2 separate regions of the Homo sapiens genome follow, and region 1 is linked to region 2. Evidence: promoter capture Hi-C in 16 types of primary human blood cells and fetal thymus (Javierre and others, 2016). All regions are on one chromosome and are shown on one strand. Each heading gives the region's core, a stretch centred on a gene start or on the middle of the fragment in contact. The rest is flanking DNA. Distances are from core to core; before and after follow the strand shown.

Evidence for each region. Contacts are between HindIII fragments. The CHiCAGO score rates a contact against its expected background, and 5 or more counts as called.
Region 1: a fragment that was not itself captured here is called in contact with the fragment with the promoter of SLC19A3 in region 2 in 1 of 17 cell types (naive CD8 T cells); the score reaches 5.7 in naive CD8 T cells.

The regions. Positions count from the first base shown.
Region 1 is chr2:227,133,680-227,137,868 of GRCh38, forward strand. All of the region lies in intron 4 of COL4A4 (collagen type IV alpha 4 chain), which reads right to left. Among named protein-coding and RNA genes, the nearest start is that of COL4A4, 28 kb to the right of the region's middle. The HindIII fragment of the contact is 4,592 bases long and covers 1-4,189 here.
Region 2 is chr2:227,715,269-227,719,604 of GRCh38, forward strand. SLC19A3 (solute carrier family 19 member 3) reads right to left here and starts at 2,760. Exons shown (of 6, transcript NM_025243.4): 1 at 2,675-2,760. RefSeq lists an enhancer at 2,291-3,177. The HindIII fragment of the contact is 1,627 bases long and covers 1,421-3,047 here.

The sequences.
Region 1 (4,189 bases), core at 747-3,246, 580 kb before region 2:
TCAGGAGTTTGAGACCAGCCTGGCCAACATGGCAAAATCCCATCTCTACTAAAAATACAAACATTAGCCAAGTGCGGTGGGGGTGCCTGTAGTCCCAGCTACTCGGGAGGCTGAGGCAGAAGAATTGCTTGAACCCAGGAGGCAGAGGTTGCAGTGAGCCAAGATAGCGCCACGACACTCCAGCCTGAATGAGAGAGACTCCATCTCAAAAAAGAAAAAAAAAAAGAAAAAGAATTTAAAAAAGAAAGAAATCCTTACTCAAGCCTACACAGATCATCCTATAGCTGAAGATTCAGGCTTTAACTTTTGCAAGTTTTTTATTCTTCAGAAATCAAGGTTCCTGTTCTTGACACAGGGGGGACACTTTAACAAGCTAAGCCCACATTATAAACTGGAAGCTGGTGGGCTGAATTTTACTGGGGAGTGTGTTTAATTGCTAGGCACTGGGTTTTTTAAAAATTCTGAATTCTGATGCCTTTAAATGACAAATGCACCGTCCAGCTCCTAGTAGCCCCATCCTGAGCACCTCCTCTCCCCATTACTACATTCAGGTCACCAGCTGTTCCCCAAGGACATCTGAGTCTGCCATCTCTGACAGGGACTTCATTTACCAGGGAATTCTCCAGTAGTAACAAAATGAGCCAGAGAGTTCTTGGAGGAGGAAGATATAGCAAGAAGAACAAAAAAGCAAACCCAACAAGCTCAGGGGTTGAAAGACCACCTTTGCCAACTTCTAATTGTCACTGGAACTTGTTTACATCAAAATGGAACACAATTGACTTAAGTGAACTTTGGGGACATAAAAATTATTGTTCTGAACCATGTATCAGGCTACAGGTAGAAAATGTCCTAAAACACAGCTGTGTGAGTGATAGTGAGACTGAGTTCTAGAACTTTGAGTGCAAGTAATTCAATGAAATGAAAAATGTTAACAGTAATTAAACTTTCCCAAGTAAATTCCATTTTTATCATGGAATGCAAGCTCTTAGGAGTATAAGGGATGAGTGAATGAGATCGCAGGGAAAATACTTGCAGTTTTTTAGTGATTTGAAATTCTCCGAAGAAAGAATGACTCACTCACGTTTGATTTTGGTTTTCAAACCAAAAAGACTAAGACAATTCTTGACATTTACGTCATTTGACCTCCGTGTTTGTAAAACCACCACATCATAAGGTTTTGTTAATTTTGCAATTGTTATACTCCCTTGAATAGAAAACAATATGGGGAAAAAACTGTGGACAGTGTCTTTATTATCATCCTTGTTACTAAAGTATAACTTATAAAAGGTCCTCATTCTAATTTGTAAGGACATGTAATTTTCCCTGCAAGGAGCCCACCAGTAAACACAGAGAGCTTCCTCCCTTGAAACTGATAAGGAATAATAGAAAATCCTGCCTGATATACCTCATTCACACCCTTAAAGATGGGCCATAGTGAGGTTCATGGAAATGTTAGGGCCTGGTCACAAGTCATTTGGGAAACCAAGTAAATAGCTGTCATATGTGAAAACCCACGCCCCATATCACAGAACCATGGGCTGCTAGAGCCGAGGGGACCAACCAGCCCCCTCTAGGACAAATTCTCACATCCCAGGTGAGGGCTCTGAACCCGAAAAAGATCAAGGAGGTAAGCTCCAGTCTCCTCCCCTCAGCCTGGAGCTCTTAGGGTGCCATTGTACCTTAAAAGGTCCAAGAGCTGCAACCCTCTTATTTGTTGCTGCTGCTCAAAGTGCTTATTTCTGACCCTACCTGAAATTCACAAGGGAATTTGAACTATGTGAGATTACTCATTTCCTAACAGGCTTAAATGCTAGTGTGTGGGGAGAAAGTCTAGGGTTGGGGAAGAGGCTCCCCACTAATTCTGTCCCCCTCTTCTCTTGGGTATGGGAGATCCCCCTACAGAGTCCCTGCATGCTGGCCTGACCACCAGCTCAGCTCCCAAATCCTGTCCAGGCTGGAATCTATTTTTTTTTTTCTTTTGAGACAGAGTTTTACTCTTGTCACCCAGGCTGAAGTGCCATGGCGAAATCTCAGCTCACTGTAACCTCCGCCTCATGGGTTCAAGCAATTCTCCTGCCTCAGCCTTCCAGGTAGCTGGGATTACAGGCGCCCGCCACCATGCCTGGCTAATTTTTTGTATTTTTAGTAGAGGTGGGGTTTCACCATGTTGGCCAGGCTGGTCTGGAATTCCTGACCTCAGGTGATCCACCCACCTCAGCCTCCCAGGGTGCTAGGATTACAGGCGTGAACCACCATGCCTGGCCCCTGAATTTTAGTTTCTTAATTTATGTGTATTAACTGCCTGTTGTGTGCTATCTACTGTGATAATCTCAAAGTACAAAAAATGACCCCCAGTTTACAAAGGGGAGAAGTGAAGGTAGGCAAACTATATTTCAAGGGTGTCCACAGTGGGTCAGGAATCAGGATCAACGTTTTACTTGTGTTCTCATGACCACCTTCAAGAAGTGTATGCTTGCAATCTAATCAATAAAGTCGGGCACATTCACTCTCAAATCCAGCCAGAGCTACAGAGCAGGGCAGGACAAGTACAGCAAAAGAGAAGCAGGTAAGCAGCTTGCTAGGGGGCTCTGGCAGGGAGACATCGACACTGACTGTGATGAGCAGAAAGGCCTTGTGGTTTGGCATCTCCACTGAGCTCCTTTGAGAAGAACAGGAAAGACAGAGGCAGAGTGCAAGTTGGAAGGCACTCAGAAAAGGGCAGAGAAGTGGAAATATTCAGATTATCTTCAAGAGTGAATGAGTGGCCCAACTGCTGCAGCTGGAGAGGGTCAAAGGGGCAGTAATGGGGATTACAGATGAAAACTCATGCTGGGGCTAGACTGTGAGCCTCCAGCAGTACAGTGATGGGGCTGGACTTCATTCTGTAGACATCAAAGGAGGCCCCCCTTGATTCTCCACCTTAGATTGTTCCATCTCCACCTCTAACTCTAGCTCTCCTCTCCAGTTAAATTGCGAACCATGGCCGTTCCTCAGCACAGAACCAGCCTTGCCTGTCAACGATTGCTTTAGACATAGCAGTTTTGATGTGGGGTTTGATGAAACTACTACCTACTACTACCTACTGCTACTACGGGCATTAACCTGTAAGAGAGGAACACTTTCCTTCTTAGGAATAGCCCGCTATGCCACTTGAAGGCTGTGCAGCCTCAGGCAGATCCCTCAAGCCTTAGGAATTTGGTGTGTTCCTATTCTGATAGTCCCCCGTGAGCTGTCACTGCAGCTCAGAAGGTTGGCCGGCTGCTGAGGACTTGACAGTGCTACTTTCCCAAACCACCTTCTGTTACGCACAAGTCACACTCCCAAATCCTCGCTGGAAGATGTCACAACGACTTGCAGCCTTCCCATGGAAAACCCATTCATCTCAGGAAGACCACAGGCTCCCTGTTGTGGCACACACAGCTCTCCTTGACCACGCAGACACAAAGACACACACAGCAGAGTGCCGCTCAGGACTGGGAGCCTTCCCTATCCAGAGACTGCTTAGAGGGTGGAAAGTACACCATCTACACATGCAATGCCTTGCGCTTGTTTAACAGCCCAAGGACATAGAAGAGAAGGACCAATGGGGGTACGTGCAAGGAAACCCAGGCTTGGTCAGAGTCAAGTGGCAACCCAAGTTTACAAAGTGATGCTACAACCCAGCAGTTGGTACCTTCGTGTAATGATCTTTCCACGATCATGGAGCAAATGCTGGGTTTGAAGCCAGACACGTGGGTGTGATTCCTGGTTCTCCTGCATCCTAGCAAGTTATTTAGAACTGTTGGGAATTTAGTTTCCTTGCTCTGAAGGGTGGAAATAATAATACTTGCATCACAGAGCAGAGGTGAGATTAGAACAGGGCTTCTCAATCTTGGCACAGTTGGCATTTGGGATGGATAATTCTTTGGTGTGGGGACTGTCCTGTGCATTGTAAGATGTTGAACAGCACTTCTGGTCTCTACTTGCTGGAAACCAGTAGCATCCCCTTTTCTGCTAAAACAACTCTCAGCCTCATTCACATTGGGAGACCCACTGAGGTGCCTTTATCAAAGCAACTGGTCCTCTTTGTTTTGGGGTCGGCTCATCTCTTTCTTGCCACAGGGCTGATCAAATCTATTTATCTTGGTCCTGAAGCTCAAAGTCATAAAATTTAGAGGCACTGAGGTTTTTTTTCCTTTTTGCATTTGTA
Region 2 (4,336 bases), core at 1,510-4,009:
CTTTGCTGAAATAAAGCATGCCACACAACTTCCAAAGACGTAAACTAGACCCAGATATTCAGTATGTGGGCCAGAATAGTTCTGTTGTTTGTTTTTGTAAGAGCAGAAACAAGTGATATTTTTAAAATTTTATTTTTAGTAAAGATGGGGCTTTGCCATGTTGGCCAGGCTACTCTTGAACTCCTGGCCTCAAGAAATCCGCCTGCCTTGGCCTCCCAAAGTGCTGGGATTACAGGTGTGAGCCACCGCACCCAGCCCAAGTGATCTTTAAGATGCTTCAGATTTTATTTTATCATATATGGTACCATTCCTTTTAATTTGCATGAGGTGTTTGCTGGTAAATTAATCATTTCCTTCCAAATTCTGTTTATTCTGTTATGTCTATGTTCAGATCAATCTAGTCTTAGGGAGAGCAGGAGGAATATGCCTAAGAAAACCATAAAACTAAGAAAAACATAAAACGGCTTAGAAAGTCAACTGAGCCCAGCCTGGGCAAAATAGCGAGACCTCACCTCTATAAAAAATACAAAAATTAGCTAGGCATGGTGGTGTGTGCCTATAGTGCCAGGTAGTTGGGAGACTGAAGTGGGAAGATTGCTTGAACAGGGAAAGTCAAGGCTGCGGTGAGCCGAGATCCCAGCCACTGCACTCCAGCCTGGGCAACAAGAGCGAGACTCCGTCTCAAAAAAAAAAAAAAAAAAAAAAAATTTCAAAAACCCCAAACAAAACAAAACAAAAAAGGAAAGTCAGCTGACATCTAATCCTTGAGATGCAGTGAAAGTTTCTGATTAAATGCACTGAGAGAAGGTGGTGTTGTAGGGAAAAAACTGGATTAAAGAAAAATTAGAGGTCATTTGAGCTATTTTACAACTCTGTAAATTTTAACAACTGATGGCAATGTTAAGTAATTATTGTCTATAGACATGCAAATAAGGTTTATCCCATGAAGGACAACAGTCTTCCTTTCCCCCATGGAAAACCAGTTTCAATATTCCTGATCTATATTTCATTATTCAATATTCCTGATCTACGAATGTACCCATTCTTTGGGTTCTTCTTTGATCTGGCTACTACAGACTCATCAGTTTCGTCACTAATAAGTGCCGGGACTCAGAAGCCGATACCCCAAAATATGGGGCTTTGACATGCTGGAGACCTCAAGGTCTCTCTGACCTTCCCGGCTCCCAGCTCAAAAAAACCTTTGTCTGCCTAAGATCCAGACCCACCAAAAGGAACAACTGTTTCTTTTCCCTTCCCTGTAAGACCAAGAATATACCCCACACCTGAACAGACCCATTCACAAGATAATGTAGCTTATTCTCTCCCCTGACCCATTCATGCTCCCTAGCAGAAGCCCATCCACTTCTGCTGGATGCTCTTCGGCTCCCTCCCGTAACCTCATTTGCCAGGGTAGTCTATAAGCTTCTGAGACATGTTGCAGGGTGGGTAATCAATCACTCTGATTCTCCCTGTGTGCATGTTAAATAAATGTGTATGCATTTACCATTACACAACCTTAAAAGAGTGTTGTTGGTCTATTAGCAATAATGACTGAAGGAAATTGGTATTTTTGTCCATTTCAGCTACTACTAGGATAATCTTATAAGATATTTGGGAAGTTATGTTTTGGTCTATTTAATATATGTGCCTCGATGAAAAAAACACCTTTTGCCACAGGAGACACCAATGTTTCAATATTGATAGGAGCAAAACACATGAGAGTGCTTTTTTTTTTTTTTTTTTTTTTTTTTTGAGGCAGAATCTTGCTGGGTCGCCCAGGCTGGAGTGCAGTGGTGCAATCTTGGCTCACTGCAACCTTCGCCTCCCAAGTTCAAGCCATTCTTCAGCCTCAGCCTCCAGTGTAGCTGGGATTACAGGCACCCGCCACCATGCCCGGCTAATTTTTGCCTTTTTAGTAGAGACGGGGTTTCATCCCAGGGCCAAGCTGGTCTCGAATTCCTGACCTCAAGCAATCCGCCCCGCTCAGCCTCCCAAAGTGCTGGGATTACAGGCGTGAGCCACTGCGCCTGGCCTGAGAGTACTTTTAGAAAACATTATTCCTTTACCTTTTTCAAACTTGAAGCACTCCGAAAGTCCCAACCTTTTGCACATTTGCGGCAGCGACATTGATTTGGTAAACAGCTGTCACACTATTTATTATTTGATGACTTAGGTATCCTTTCCAGCAGTGTTTTTGTAAGGTGTAGTTGCGTTTTCTTTTAGTTTCAATTAACTAAATTTCAAGTGGTTCCCAAAAAAGCCCCTGCTCTCTTAAATTCAAACTCACCTTCCTTTTTCCCACTAGGAAGGACCTTTTCTCCATCCTTGGATTGGAATTTGGAATTCTATGCTAAAATGCCTTTTCAGTTAAAATCTGTGAACGTGGGATGTAACCATAGGAGGTGCTGGCACTTTACGGGAATCATGATTTTATTTAATCTGCGCTTCCAGAAGGCTGCAAATGGGAATTCCAGACAAACCCACTTGGGTGAATCCCAGCACGCGGGCTGCGGCGTAGGGGGAGAGCTCCTCACGCGGCTCAGAGTGTAGCCCAGGCCCGCAGAGCCAGGAACCCGCCCCCAGCTCTCCAAACCCGGGAAGAGAGAGGCGACACTGCTAAGACCGAGGGATGACGGTGCTTCTTCAATTAATTCGCCCCCCGAGATATTCTTACCTACAGAAGGGAGTGTCTGTTCACCAAATCGCTCACTTGCCGCACGACCACGCACCCGCGGCTGTCGGATGGATCCAGGCGCTCTTGGTGGGAAGGGGGCGGAGCCTGCCTGGCCCGGAGCCCGGGGCCACGCCCCCACGCTTTGCATATGCGAATCCGGGCGTCCAGACCTTTCATCCCAGTGTGGAAGCCCAGATTTTCCTGGCCCAGGGCCGGTTTTCTGGGCAGAAACAGTCAACTCTGCTGAAAGGAACAACTTAAGTAATACACTGACATTCAGCATAATGAAGCAAGAGGGCCTGAATCCAACAGCGATCGTTTGCTTTATTTACAAATATGTCCTTTCTTATGAATCCATTTATTTCTCTCCAAAAGCTTAGGAGAGAGGGCTGGCTGGCTGTCACCCCCACTCTACACATGAAGAAAGTGAGGCGGAAGGAAGTAGGCCTAGTAAATAGAGAAGCCTGGGTTTTAGTTGGGGCTCCTGGCTCCAGAGCCAGTGGTTATAATCACTCTGCACTTTTTTTTTTTAAAGGAGGTAGAGTGGGATGGTTTCCTGGCACTTTGAAAATCTGATACAAACAATTTTTTCTTTTCTTCTTCTTTTTCTTTTCTTTTCTCTTTTCTTTCTTTCTTTTTTTTTTTTTTGAGACAGAGTCTCCCTCTGTCGCCCAGGATGGAGTGCAGTGGCGCGATCTCGGCTCACTACAACCCTCCGCCTCCCGGGTTCAAGCGATTCTCCTGCCTCAGCCTCCAAAAATTAACGCCCAGTTAATTTTTGTGTTTTTAGTAGAGACGGGGTTTGGTTTCACCATATTGGCCAGGCTCATCTCGAACTCCTGGCCTCGTGATCCGCCTGCCTCGGCCTCTCAAAGTGCTGAGATTACAGGCGTGAGCCACCGCGCCTGGTCTTTTTTCTTTCTTTCTTTCTTTCTTTTTTTTTTTGAGATGGAGCCTCGCTGTTGTTGGCCCCGGGCTGGAGTGCAATGGCACGATCTTGGCTCACTGCAACCTCCACCTCCCGGGTTCCAGCAATTCTTCTGCCTCAGCCTCCCTAGTAGCTGGGATTACAGGCGCCCGTCACCACACCCAGCTAATTTTTGTATTTTTAGTAGAGATGGGGTTTCACCATGTTGTCCAGGCTGGTCTCAAACTCCTGACCTCAGGTGATCCACCCGCCTCGGCCTCCCAAAGTGCTAGGATTACAGGTGTGAGCCACAGCACCCGGCCACCTGGCCTCTTTTCTTTTCTTTTCTCTTTCTTTCTTTCTTTTTTTTTTTTTTTTGACAAAGTCTCACTTTATCTCCCAGGCTGGAGTGCAGTGGTGCAACCCCAGCTCACTGCAACCTCAATCTCCCAGGCACACTGATCCTCCTGCCTCAGCCTCCCAAGTAGCTGGGCTTGCAGGTGGGTGCCACCACGTCACATTAATTTTTTTGTTTTTTTTTTTTGGTAGAGACAGAGTCTCACTATCTTGCCCAGGCTGGTCTTGAACTCCTGGGCTCAAAGGATCCTCCTGCCTTGCCCGCCCAAAGTGTTGGGATTACAGGCATGAGCCACTACGCTTAGCCTGCAAAGAGTTTATATATTAAAGTGAAACTTCTTATTAAACAGAGAATTTTTTTAAAGCATTACAAGGTTCTTATTGGTTAAAATGGAAAA